2 separate regions of the Homo sapiens genome follow, and region 2 is linked to region 1. The links are contacts of gene promoters, found by promoter capture Hi-C in human tissues and cell types (Jung and others, 2019). All regions are on one chromosome and are shown on one strand. The core of a region is centred on a gene start or on the middle of the fragment in contact, and the rest is flanking DNA. Distances in the headings are between cores, read along the strand shown. Region 1 holds the start of ENTPD6 (ectonucleoside triphosphate diphosphohydrolase 6). Region 2 has its middle 15 kb from the start of GGTLC1.

Evidence for each region. The method cuts DNA at HindIII sites, captures the fragments that hold promoters and counts their contacts. A contact is called where the count stands out against the background at its distance.
Region 2: a fragment that was not itself captured here is called in contact with the fragment with the promoter of ENTPD6 in region 1 in 1 of the 25 tissues and cell types used here (spleen).

Annotation. Positions count from the first base shown.
Region 1 is chr20:25,191,640-25,196,964 of GRCh38, reverse strand. It overlaps ENTPD6 (ectonucleoside triphosphate diphosphohydrolase 6), which reads right to left and starts at 1,253. Exons shown (of 15, transcript NM_001247.5): 1 at 1,098-1,253. It overlaps LOC101926889 (a long non-coding RNA gene), which reads left to right and starts at 73. Exons shown (of 6, transcript NR_109994.1): 1 at 73-342. RefSeq lists enhancers at 108-257, 638-707, 1,558-1,797 and a silencer at 998-1,417. The HindIII fragment of the contact is 8,888 bases long and covers 1-5,325 here.
Region 2 is chr20:24,000,931-24,005,914 of GRCh38, reverse strand. No RefSeq gene overlaps it. Among named protein-coding and RNA genes, the nearest start is that of GGTLC1, 15 kb to the right of the region's middle. The HindIII fragment of the contact is 3,965 bases long and covers 1,075-4,984 here.

The DNA.
Region 1 (5,325 bases), core at 4-2,503:
GGGAGGGGAGGCGCTTCCAGATCTCCTGACACAAAGGGCTGCCCACCTCCCTGGTCCTTTACCCGAACCTTCAGGAGGCAGACGACACACACACTAGCCAGCCACTCTCTCCAAGGCAAGGGGAGGGGGACAAAAAGCAATTTTGAGATTTGTACAGTGCTTGCCAGGTCCTTCAAAAATGACTACCGGCCGCCCATGGCTCTTGCACAGCGGGTGGGAGGAAGAGTCCTTGTAATCCACCTCTCCCAAGGAACTCCTGCGCGAGGTTTCAGATTCCCCGCCTGCAGGCTATGGCTGACTTCCCCGTATCCTGTGTGACGTGGGATGTGTGGCTTCGCGCAGGTAAGGCTGGAATACAGGTGCCTGGAGGGACACCCAGAGCTGCCCAGGCACTTCCCGGCGGCTGCTTCCTTTGCACTTTGCACTTACAGGTGCACTTATAATAAAAACACCCTCCCTTCCACGCTCCCCTGGGCCCTCCCATCTCTCCTTCCTCTTCCACGCTCTCCTGGCTGTTGAATGTTTTCCACTGAAGGAGTCTAGTCTGTCCACCTAGGGGGCTCTCCCTCCCTCGGTCCAGGGCATTCGCGGCTCACAGGTCAGCTCGGGCAGAACCGCCCTGACCACCTATGAGCTCCTCGGGACACCACCCCAATGCCAGGGTGAATCGTCCTTACACCCTCAGTCCTGTCCGAGCGGCCTGATCCTACCTGTTTCCCAGAAACTGCTACGCGAAGCTTCCCCGCCGGGCTCATCCAGGGCGGAGGGGTCTGTCCCTGACGCAGACTGGGGGCGGGTCCGCAAAAGCGGGCTGAATGAATGAACGCAGCAGGGCTGGGGCCCCCTGGGGCTACAGGCCCCTGCTATTTGGCCCGCCCTGTGGCCCAAAACACTGGACTTGCCCCCCACCGGTCAGCGGAGCCCAGACATCCAGGGAGCCCTAATGGAGCCTGGACAGGAAGGCAGCAGGAGGTGGGACCCGGGGTGCGAGTGACCCCGAGGCCGTCCTCCGGAGCGCAGCGCGCCCGCGTGGGGGAGGCCCGCCTACAGTCGGTGATCCCCGGCCGCCCCCGCCAGCGCCCCGGCCCGCCGCTTACCATGCACCGCGCGCTCCGCCACACCCACGGAGACGAGTGCCCTTTTCCGGGGAGCAGGCGGCAGCCGGTCTTTTGGGCTCCCCCGCCCCGGCCGGCGCCACCCCGGCCTCCACCCGCGGGATACGACCCCACGATTCCCTAGGGCCTGGGCTCCGCCCCATGCACGTGGCGTCACAGGCTGGGCGGGGGGGCGCACCCAGCCGCGCATGCGCAGGCGGGAGAGGAGGTGGGGGTCGGGGGACCCAGTTGCGCAGGCGCGGGCGGAGTATGGGTGCTCAGCTGCGTAGGCGCGATGGCCTTCTTTTCTTTCTGCAGGTGGCCTTGCGGTTTTCTCCAGTCCACAGCCGGGCTGGCGTCGGCCCAGAGAGGGGGGCTCGGCAGTCTGGTTCCCCGAGCGTCTCATGGCGGGCCCTCGCCAGATTCAAGGGGTTCCCTTGGCCAGTTTCCTTACGGCGCGGCGGAGCTGGCCCTCGTCGTCCCTGGTAGGGGGCAGCCTCACAGCCTGGACCGGCCTGTGCAATTTCCCCCATCCCTCCACGTCTACATTTTATTTTTTTCTTTTTCTTTTTTTAGGACAATGCATGATGGAAATGCAGCCACATCATAGCAGGCAGGTTCATGAAATCTGCCCTCCTCCCACCGTTTCTTGACCCCATTTTCTTATTTTTTTTTTTAACAGGTTCTCACCCAGGCTGGAGTGCAGTGATGTGGTCTCAGCTCACTGCAACCTCTGCCTCCCGGGTTCAAGCGATTCTGTTGCCTCAGCTTCCTGAGTAGCTGGGATTACAGGTGTGCGCCACCACGCCTGGCTAATTTTTGTACCTTTAGTAGTGACGAGGTTTCGCCCTGTTGGTCAGGCTGGTCTCGAACTCCTGACCTAAGGTGATCCGCCTGCCTCGGCCTCCCAAAGTGCTGGGTCTATAGGCATAAGCCACCACACCCGGCCCTTGACCCCATTTTCTGTCTTCCTAGAAATCACCAAGGTTGCAACTCCTGACTGTCCTGGCTCACAGGCTCCAGCTTACTTAAGGACCCCACGGTGGGGGCTGCCCACTTGCACACCTATGCTAGGCGCCCTCATTCCCGCAAGGGCCAGAGCCCCTTCCCGGCCCATGGCGTCTGGCCAAGGAGGTGTGGGTGCGCCCCAGCCAGGCCTGGTCCTAGAGGACGGCCCCACCTGCGCACTGGGGCATCTGGGAGAGCTATTAGTGGAAGAAGCCCAGGTTCCTGAAGCACCAAGTGGGCAAGAGTTTATTTTCAGGATGGGACGCTTTTGAGGGTGAATAAGTGCTAGCTGTATGGGATGCGGGGACAGTACACAGGCCCGGCCTGGCAGCCGGGCAATGCGGTGCCTGTTGGAAGGTCGCCCACAAGCACCTGGTTGGACACTGCCACTGAGATTTGGTTATTACAGAGGTTAGCCTATGCGGGCCTTCACTGATGGACCTTGAAGTGTTTCCCAGTTGCTTTGGGTTAGGAATAATGTGACTGGATCCCGTGGATTGTCTTTGTGCATGCATGTGGGTATATCTGTCAGAAATATTCTTAGAGGTGGAATTGGCTATGGTGGGATATGTCCTTTAAAATAATATATTAGCCAAACGTGGCTAAATTGCCCCCCTTAGACACTGTACTAATTTACACTCTGGCAAATAATGTGTAAGACTGTGGGTTTCCACACATCTTCACCAGTGGGGTCTTTCCAAACTTTTGGATCTTTCCCAATCCAATAATGACAAAACTATATCTCATGGTTTTAATTTACACTTCCTAGTATTTTGAGATCCTGTCGTGAAGTGGTGATGGCCCTGTTTCTGCCTGCTGCACTTGGCAACATGTGTTATCACTTCCTTTCTTTTCACCACTTTTTACTCTTAGAGTTTCTAGAATTTGTGAAAGTAAAATCTTTTTGCTGGCATGGGCTTTTGTGTGTATTATACACTGCTTGGAAAGGTCTTGCACCACATCTTCCCTTCGTAGATTGTTTCTCAATGTTTAATACTCAGCTCAAATGTCACCTCCTCAGACCATTTTATCTAGAATGGCCTCCTCTAGTTATTCTCTGTCACCTTTTATGTTATTTCCTTCATAGCACTCATCACACTGTAACCACCCAACAGCTTCTTCTTGCCTGTCGCCCAGATAGAGCCAATTTTTCAAGATGGGAATTGCAATAAAGAGTTCGATACACATAGAGCTGGCTAACCAGGAGAGCAGAGGCTTATTACTCCTCAAATCAGCCTCTCCTCAAATTCGGAGTCTAAGGAATTTTTTGGGGGGGGTTTGTTTTTGAGACAGTGTCTTGCTTTGTTGTCCAGGCTGGAGTGCAGTGGTGCAGTCTAGGCTTACTGCAACCTCCACCTCCTGTTCAAGCGATTCTCATGCCTCAGCCTTACAAGTAGCTGGGATTACAAGCGCACACCACCATGCCCAGCTAATTATTTGTATTTTTAGTAGAGACGGGGTTTCACCGTGTTGGCCAGGCTGGTCTCGAACTCCTGCTCTCAAGTGATTTGCCCTCCTTGGCCTCCCAAAGTGCTGGGATTGTGCCAGTCTGGAGGCTAGGGTTTTTAAAAGATAGTTTAGCAGTCAGGGGGCTAGGGAATGGTGAGTGCTGATTGGTTGGGTTAGGGATGAAATCCTGAAGAGATGAAGCTTTCGTCTTGCTCTGGGTTAGTTCCTGGGTTGGGGTCACAAGACGAGATAGCCAGTTTACCAGTCTGGGTGGCTAGTCCATCACAATGTGGGGTCTGAAAAATACCTTGAACACCAATCTTATGTTATATAATAGTAATATTATCTATTGGAGCAATTATGGAGGTTAGGAATCTTGTGGCTTCGGGCTGCATGACTCCTAAGCCATAATTTTTTTTTTTTTTTTTTTTTGAGATGAAGTCTTGCTCTTGTCCCCCAGGCTGGAGTGCAATGGTGTGATCTCGGCTCGCTGCAACCTCTGCCTCCCGGGTTCAAGCAATTATCCTGCCTCAGCCTCCTGAGTAGCTGGGATTACAGGCACCTGCCACCACGCCCGGCTAATTTTTATATTTTTAGTAGAGACAGGGTTTCACCATGTTGGCCAGGCTGGTCTTGAACTACTGACCTCAGGTGATCTGCCCACCCTGGCCTCCCAAAGTGCTGGGATTACAGGTGTGAGCCATCGCGCCCGGCCCATAAATTTTAATCTTGTGGCTAATTTGTTAGTTTCACAAAGGTGGTCTGGTCCCCAAGCAAGAAGGAGGTTTGTTTCAGGGGGGGGCTGTTATATTTGGTTTAAAGTGAAATTATAAACTAAGTTTCTCCACAGATTTGTTTGGCCTATGCCCAGGAATGTGCAAAGGCAGATTGGAGGTTAGAAGATGGAGTCGGTTAGGCCAGCTTTCTTTCACTGTTGTAATTTTCCTATGTCATATTTTTCTTATTGTCATAATTTTTGCAAAGACACAACACCCGTCATTACTTGTTTGCTGACTTGTTTATTGGTAAATTCTTTGTTCCACTACTGAAATGAAGCTCCATGAGAACAAATAAGTTGGTCTGTCCTGCTCACTGCTGCATGTCTGGCACTCTGTCTAGAACATGGTAGGTGCCTGTAGCATACATTATTGGTGCTAATGTCCCTTGCCTGCCTCTGCCGTCAGCTCTCTGATTGTTGTGGAGAGTTCCCCTGAATGCTGCCACCTCAAGCATCTCGTTGCTGTCCTCTTTAGGGCTTATCTTACGACTTTCTCCGGAAGCCTTGGGAGCAGGCGCAGCCTGGAATTCAGGGAAATTTAACATCCCCGGGGCAACTGCAGGGCAGTTTGGGTGGCCTTGGACAGACCCAGTCCCCTTTTTACCATGTAGTTCTCAGGAATAACTGCAGAATGTGCTAGGATTGCAGCATCTTGAGATAAGGGAGAACTGGCTGAACAGCCCAAGGTCAGTTCCAGTCTCCTGCTGAAAATAGGATGTCCTTCAACACTGCCCAGCAAATCACATTACCCTGGGATGTTAAACCCAGGGCAGGCTGCTCTCTGGCATTCCTCGTCTGTGGTGCAAGTGGGGCATGCCCAGTTGAGACTCCATTTGCCCTGAGCAGATTTCCTGAGCCTCAGGCAACCAGCTTGCAATGAATGCTCCTCTTGTCCCTTGCTGCCTGTCTGTAAGTAATAAATTTGCTTCATATAACTTATTGAGTATGAATGCGTTCTCTCTCACTGGACACAGACATGTTGGTAACCAATGCACA
Region 2 (4,984 bases), core at 1,808-4,307, 1.2 Mb after region 1:
TATCAGGGCTGTGTCCCCCCCTCTGAATCAGAGTAGACCTCTTTGACTGCCTCAACACAGAGTAGAGCAAAGTGAAGCCCTGTGACTCCTGAGACCAGATCATGGAAATTCTAGGTTCTTCCTCTTTGTTCTCCTGGGACGTTACTCCTAGAACCAGACACCGTGCTGTAAGAAAGCCCAGGCAGACCTTGGAGAAGGCCCCGTGTGGAGAGAAACCAAAACCTGGGGCCCACCGCCCTTGCTGCCCTCCCCGACAACGACTGGAACCACACTTCAGCCCCAGAGTAAGACATCTCCGAAGCAGGTCCTCTACCCTCCAGGGGTCTGCCCCAGAGGGTGCCCCAGAGAGCAAGGCAAGCTCTCTCCACCAAGCCCTGCAATCTTCAAATTCATGAGCAGAATAAATAACCACAGTTGTGTCAAAAGACAAAATCACAACAAATTTAAAGATCTTAATTGGCTTTTATGTGTGATTCGTGAATCAGGGCAGCCTCCATCCTACAAAATAAAATGAAAGCTTGAAAGCTTCCACCAACCAGTAGCAGAACAGTGAGTTTTCTAAGGGGAAAACAAGGAAACAAAACCATAGAAAAATAACTGATCAATTAATAGCATTAGGTTACTTCTTTGTGAGAGTTAACGCAGGACAGACTTCCTTATTGTGCCAGCTAAAGCTGGCCTCTTTGGTTATATTTCTCTCTCCTGATTTCTCAGAAGGTCAAGTAGCTTAGTTTTGGTTTGGTGACATGGAACTTTAGCATGAGTGACTTCATTTTGCTTTGGTCTGCTGGGGCTGGTAAAGGGGTCTACTTCCAGGGGAGAGTATTTTTAAGGCTACGTAGCATCAGGGCCACAGGAGGCTCTTGTTGACAGAAATGACTGCAATATAACCAGGTCTGCTTGAGCCCTAAGTAGGCACAGCTGATGGATGTCCTCTACCTTTCTTATGTGTCAGCCTCTTAGAACATCCCTGTGGGGTTAGATGTTTCTGTAAGCCACCCAAAGGATAACTGACAAGCTTATCTGTCCCGAGGGGAGGGATGAATAGACGGTAGTATGACATTGTGATTTATGATAAGAAATATATATTTGGTTTTTGTCCTGCTCCCTGGCACACAGCTCCTAAAAAGCTTGGAGTCTCCAAAGTGACAAGTGTCTGTTTCTATGCGAATGTGGTGATTGACCCCGGACCGCCTCAGGAGGGGGCCTGGTTGTCAAGGGGACGGATGGCATACTTAGAGGGCCAAAGGGCCTGCTCAGGCGAGGCGGTATTCCTCGGGATTCTTTTCTGCAGTGGATAAGGAGATAACAGGGAGGAGAAGGAAAGCAACTGTTCTCCTTGGGGGTCGGTCTTTATGCAGATAAGGGAAAACTCTCTTGGCCTCTGTTGATCTCTAAGGATTTTCAATTCAAAATACTCACTATACTAGGGAGCCATATTTTTGGGTGAAGTTCCCTGGGTTCCTTCAGTGCTATAGGTGAGGAAATGTAATTTCTTTTCTTTCCCTTATAGATTCTTAGTTTAGACTTGCTTGAAAACAAAAGTCAGATTAACAAGAGAAAACCCAGCAGGAGTTTATTAACACTTGCTGTACCCATCACCTGGGAAAGGCTTCAGTTCAAAATTATTTCTCTCTCAAGGCAGTGGCTTAGGGGCCAATACTTAAAAAGTATTGGCCGGGTGCAGTGGCTCACGCCTGTAATCCCAGCATTTTGGGAGGCCGAGGCGGACAGATCACTTGAGGTCAGGAGTTCAAGACCAGCCTAGCCAACATAGTGAAACCCTGTCTCTACTAAAAACAGAAAAATTAGCCAGGCGTGGTGGCAGGCATCTGTAATCCCAGCTACTCAGGAGGCTGAGGCAGGAGAACCGCTTGAACCTGGGAGGCAGAGGTTGCAGTGAGCCGGGATTGTGCCACTACACTCCAGCCTTGGCAACAGAGACTCCACTTAAAAAAAAATTATTTTAACAAAGAGCCATAAATCCTATTTAGTGACAAGACAAAGAAAAGAGCATCTTCAGGCTTAAAAAAAGTGAGATACATGGGAAAGTAATTGTGGGAAGAGTAAAGCCAGCTCCTAGATTCTCTGGCGTGGCTGTCTCTGAGCTTATAAGCAAGTGTTGGAAAGGGGCCTGTCTTTAGGTGGGAATGACAGAGAGGAAGGAAGAATACCTTGGTTTTGTAAATTGCTGTCCTGCTACCTGGCAAGCAGAGGCAGGGCGGAGTCTCCCTGCATCTGAATCTTCTTAAGCTCCATAATCCTCAGTAGGTAGGGGAGAATATTTTGGTTTCTTTCAGTGCATTAAGCTAATATATGTCACCTGAAATCTGCACCCTGACAGAGCAAAAGGCTTGGCATCCCACGGGACAGTAGCATATCCTCTTAGGGGCCACACTTTTGTAATATGAGTATGTCCAAAGCGAAGTTACAGACTGTTTTTCTCACACTTGCTTCCACTGTGAGACCCACCGGGATAATCATTCTGGCCTCTCATCACATACACTTAATTTTCGAGTGTGACTTTTCTTCTACTGGTTCTTTTTTGTTTACCATTTTGAAGGTCTGTTATTCACATATTGGGTATCCTGGATTTGTTCTTCAGGTCTCTTTATATTGCCTTGTGGCTTTTGTGTCTCTGTGTGTGTGCATGTGTGTGCGTGTGTGTGCACGTGTGAGTGTGCGTGGGTGTGCGTCTGTGTGCATACGTGTGCGTGTATGTGTGTGTGCGTGTGTGCATATGTGTTTGCACATGCGTGTGTGGGTGTGTGTACGTGTGCATGTGTATGTATGTGTGAGTGTGCTTGTGTGCATGTGTATGCATGTGTGTGTGCATGTGTGTACATGTGTGTGTGCGTGTGTGCATGTGTGTGAATGTGTGTGTGCGTGGATGTGTGTCAGTGTGCATGTGTGTGTGCATGTGTGTGTGAGTGTGCGTGTGTGCATGTGTGTGAGTGTGCATGTGTGTGCGTGTGTTCACAGGATTGCAGAATGTCTACCTGGTCCCCCACATCTGTATATCAGTTATCCGCTGTGACCATCTCTCACTTCATCTGTTAAACATTTTCATTTAATTGAAAAATCCATTCTTCTGTCTATAGATCCTGAGAGTATTTTGTGTTCTAGCTACGTCTCCTAGGGCTTGTCATTTGTGGTTTTTGTTAAGTTCTCATGTAGCTCTCTCACCAGTTCAGGGGGAGCTGAGTGTTACATTACTTGCTTTGGACTTCCTTGCTCTGCACGTACTCAAGGGCTCCGGAGGAGCTGAAACTTTTCTTTGCCTGCTCCTCCTGGTGTGTCCTCTCCTCATCCAGACCCATCAGGCTTTTAGGGCGTCTGGGGCAGGATGACTTCAACAGCAAGGGAAGATGTATGACTCCTGCTCCCTGAGGATGTGCAGGGAGTGGGCTGGCAAATCATCACCTTCATTTTGGAACATGGAAAGGACGTTTTTCTGCTTCAAAATGCCAAACACAGTCTTCACCCAACCAGAGAAGCTGCACACAATCCAACCCAACATCAATTTTCTCTTTCTCCAGGGTCATCAAGACCAGAAAGCTCGAACTGCACCTGCACACTGCAGCTCTTTCCTGGAGAGACTCATAGACTTCGGCTGGTCAAGCCACACTGGGGTATAAATAACCTTCACAGCCCCCAGAATAGCTGTGTCTTTCAATTACATGCATGACTCCCCAAGAACCATGCCCTCAGGTGTTCATACCCTCAGGTGGTTCGCCCTGCTCAAGTCTGGGATGATCTTGTAAAAGCTTTACCCAATTAAATACGGAGGAAGTGATGCTGTACCCGTTCTAGGCTTAAGCTTAAAAAAGAGCCAGCAGCTTCCGCTTTTCTGCTTTGGGAAACCCCAAGGCTCAGGTACCATGATGGACAGACCCCTTGGAGAGAGCAAGACTGTGCAACTAGTGGAGAGAAAGACAGAGGCTGTTGCAGCATCCCAGCTGAGCCCAGCCCAGATGACCTGTCAGCTTGACCAGTGTGAGATCAGGAGAACTGCCCAGCTGACCCAGCCCAGACTGCAGAATCATAAGCAAATCAAATGGCCATTGCTTGAAGTCACTAAGTGGGTGTGCTTTGCTACACAGCAATATATAAGCCTTAAGTTCTCCCGCAGCCCCACAGGCTCTCCTGTCTGTCAAGGACAAAGCCTCACACTTACTCTCTCTCTCCAAGAAATCCCATAGGACATGGAAGTCAAGAATCAGCTTCAAATCAGTCTTTCCAGAAGTTTTCATCATTTACTAGGATACAGATTATGGAATTTATTCTCTGTTAATATCATCATTTCTCACATTGGGTTATTTTTTGGTTGTTATTTTTATCTTTCCTTGAGATTTGCCAACAGCTTCACCACAGAACTAGATTATGAAAATCTAATGAATTAATTTATTATTCATTATTATTTTCTTTTTTTGCTTCCCAAGAATTACTTTTTTATTTTAAACTTATTTTGTTATATAACTTGTTCATTATTTATTTTGTCTGTAAATTTGTACTTTTTGCATGTTTAATTCAATTTTAAGATATATAGTATTCTAATAACTTAAAATTGAAATTTCATTTCTCCTTTGATCCAATAATTTTATACAAGTATTTTTAGATATCTGGTTAATTTTTGCAGAATTTTTCATATTCATTTCTTGTTTTACTGTAGCTTTATGGGAGTATGACAAGTGTTTCCCATTTAAAAATTTGTAGAAATTCTGATGATTTTTGTAAATGTTTTATAAACATTTTTAAAAGTGTGTTTCCAACACAAAAAGGTAATAATTACTTCAATCCGACTTTAATTCTCTACGACGTTTTTTGTCACATGTTTGCTGGGCTTATCAAGGGCTCAGAGAGCTACATTCCTAAATCCTGTAAAGATCATCTCTCAATTTCTCATTTTATTTGGATAATTTTTGCTTTATATATTTTCATGCAATATTAATCAGTATATTAATGTTTATGAATGTTTATGTCC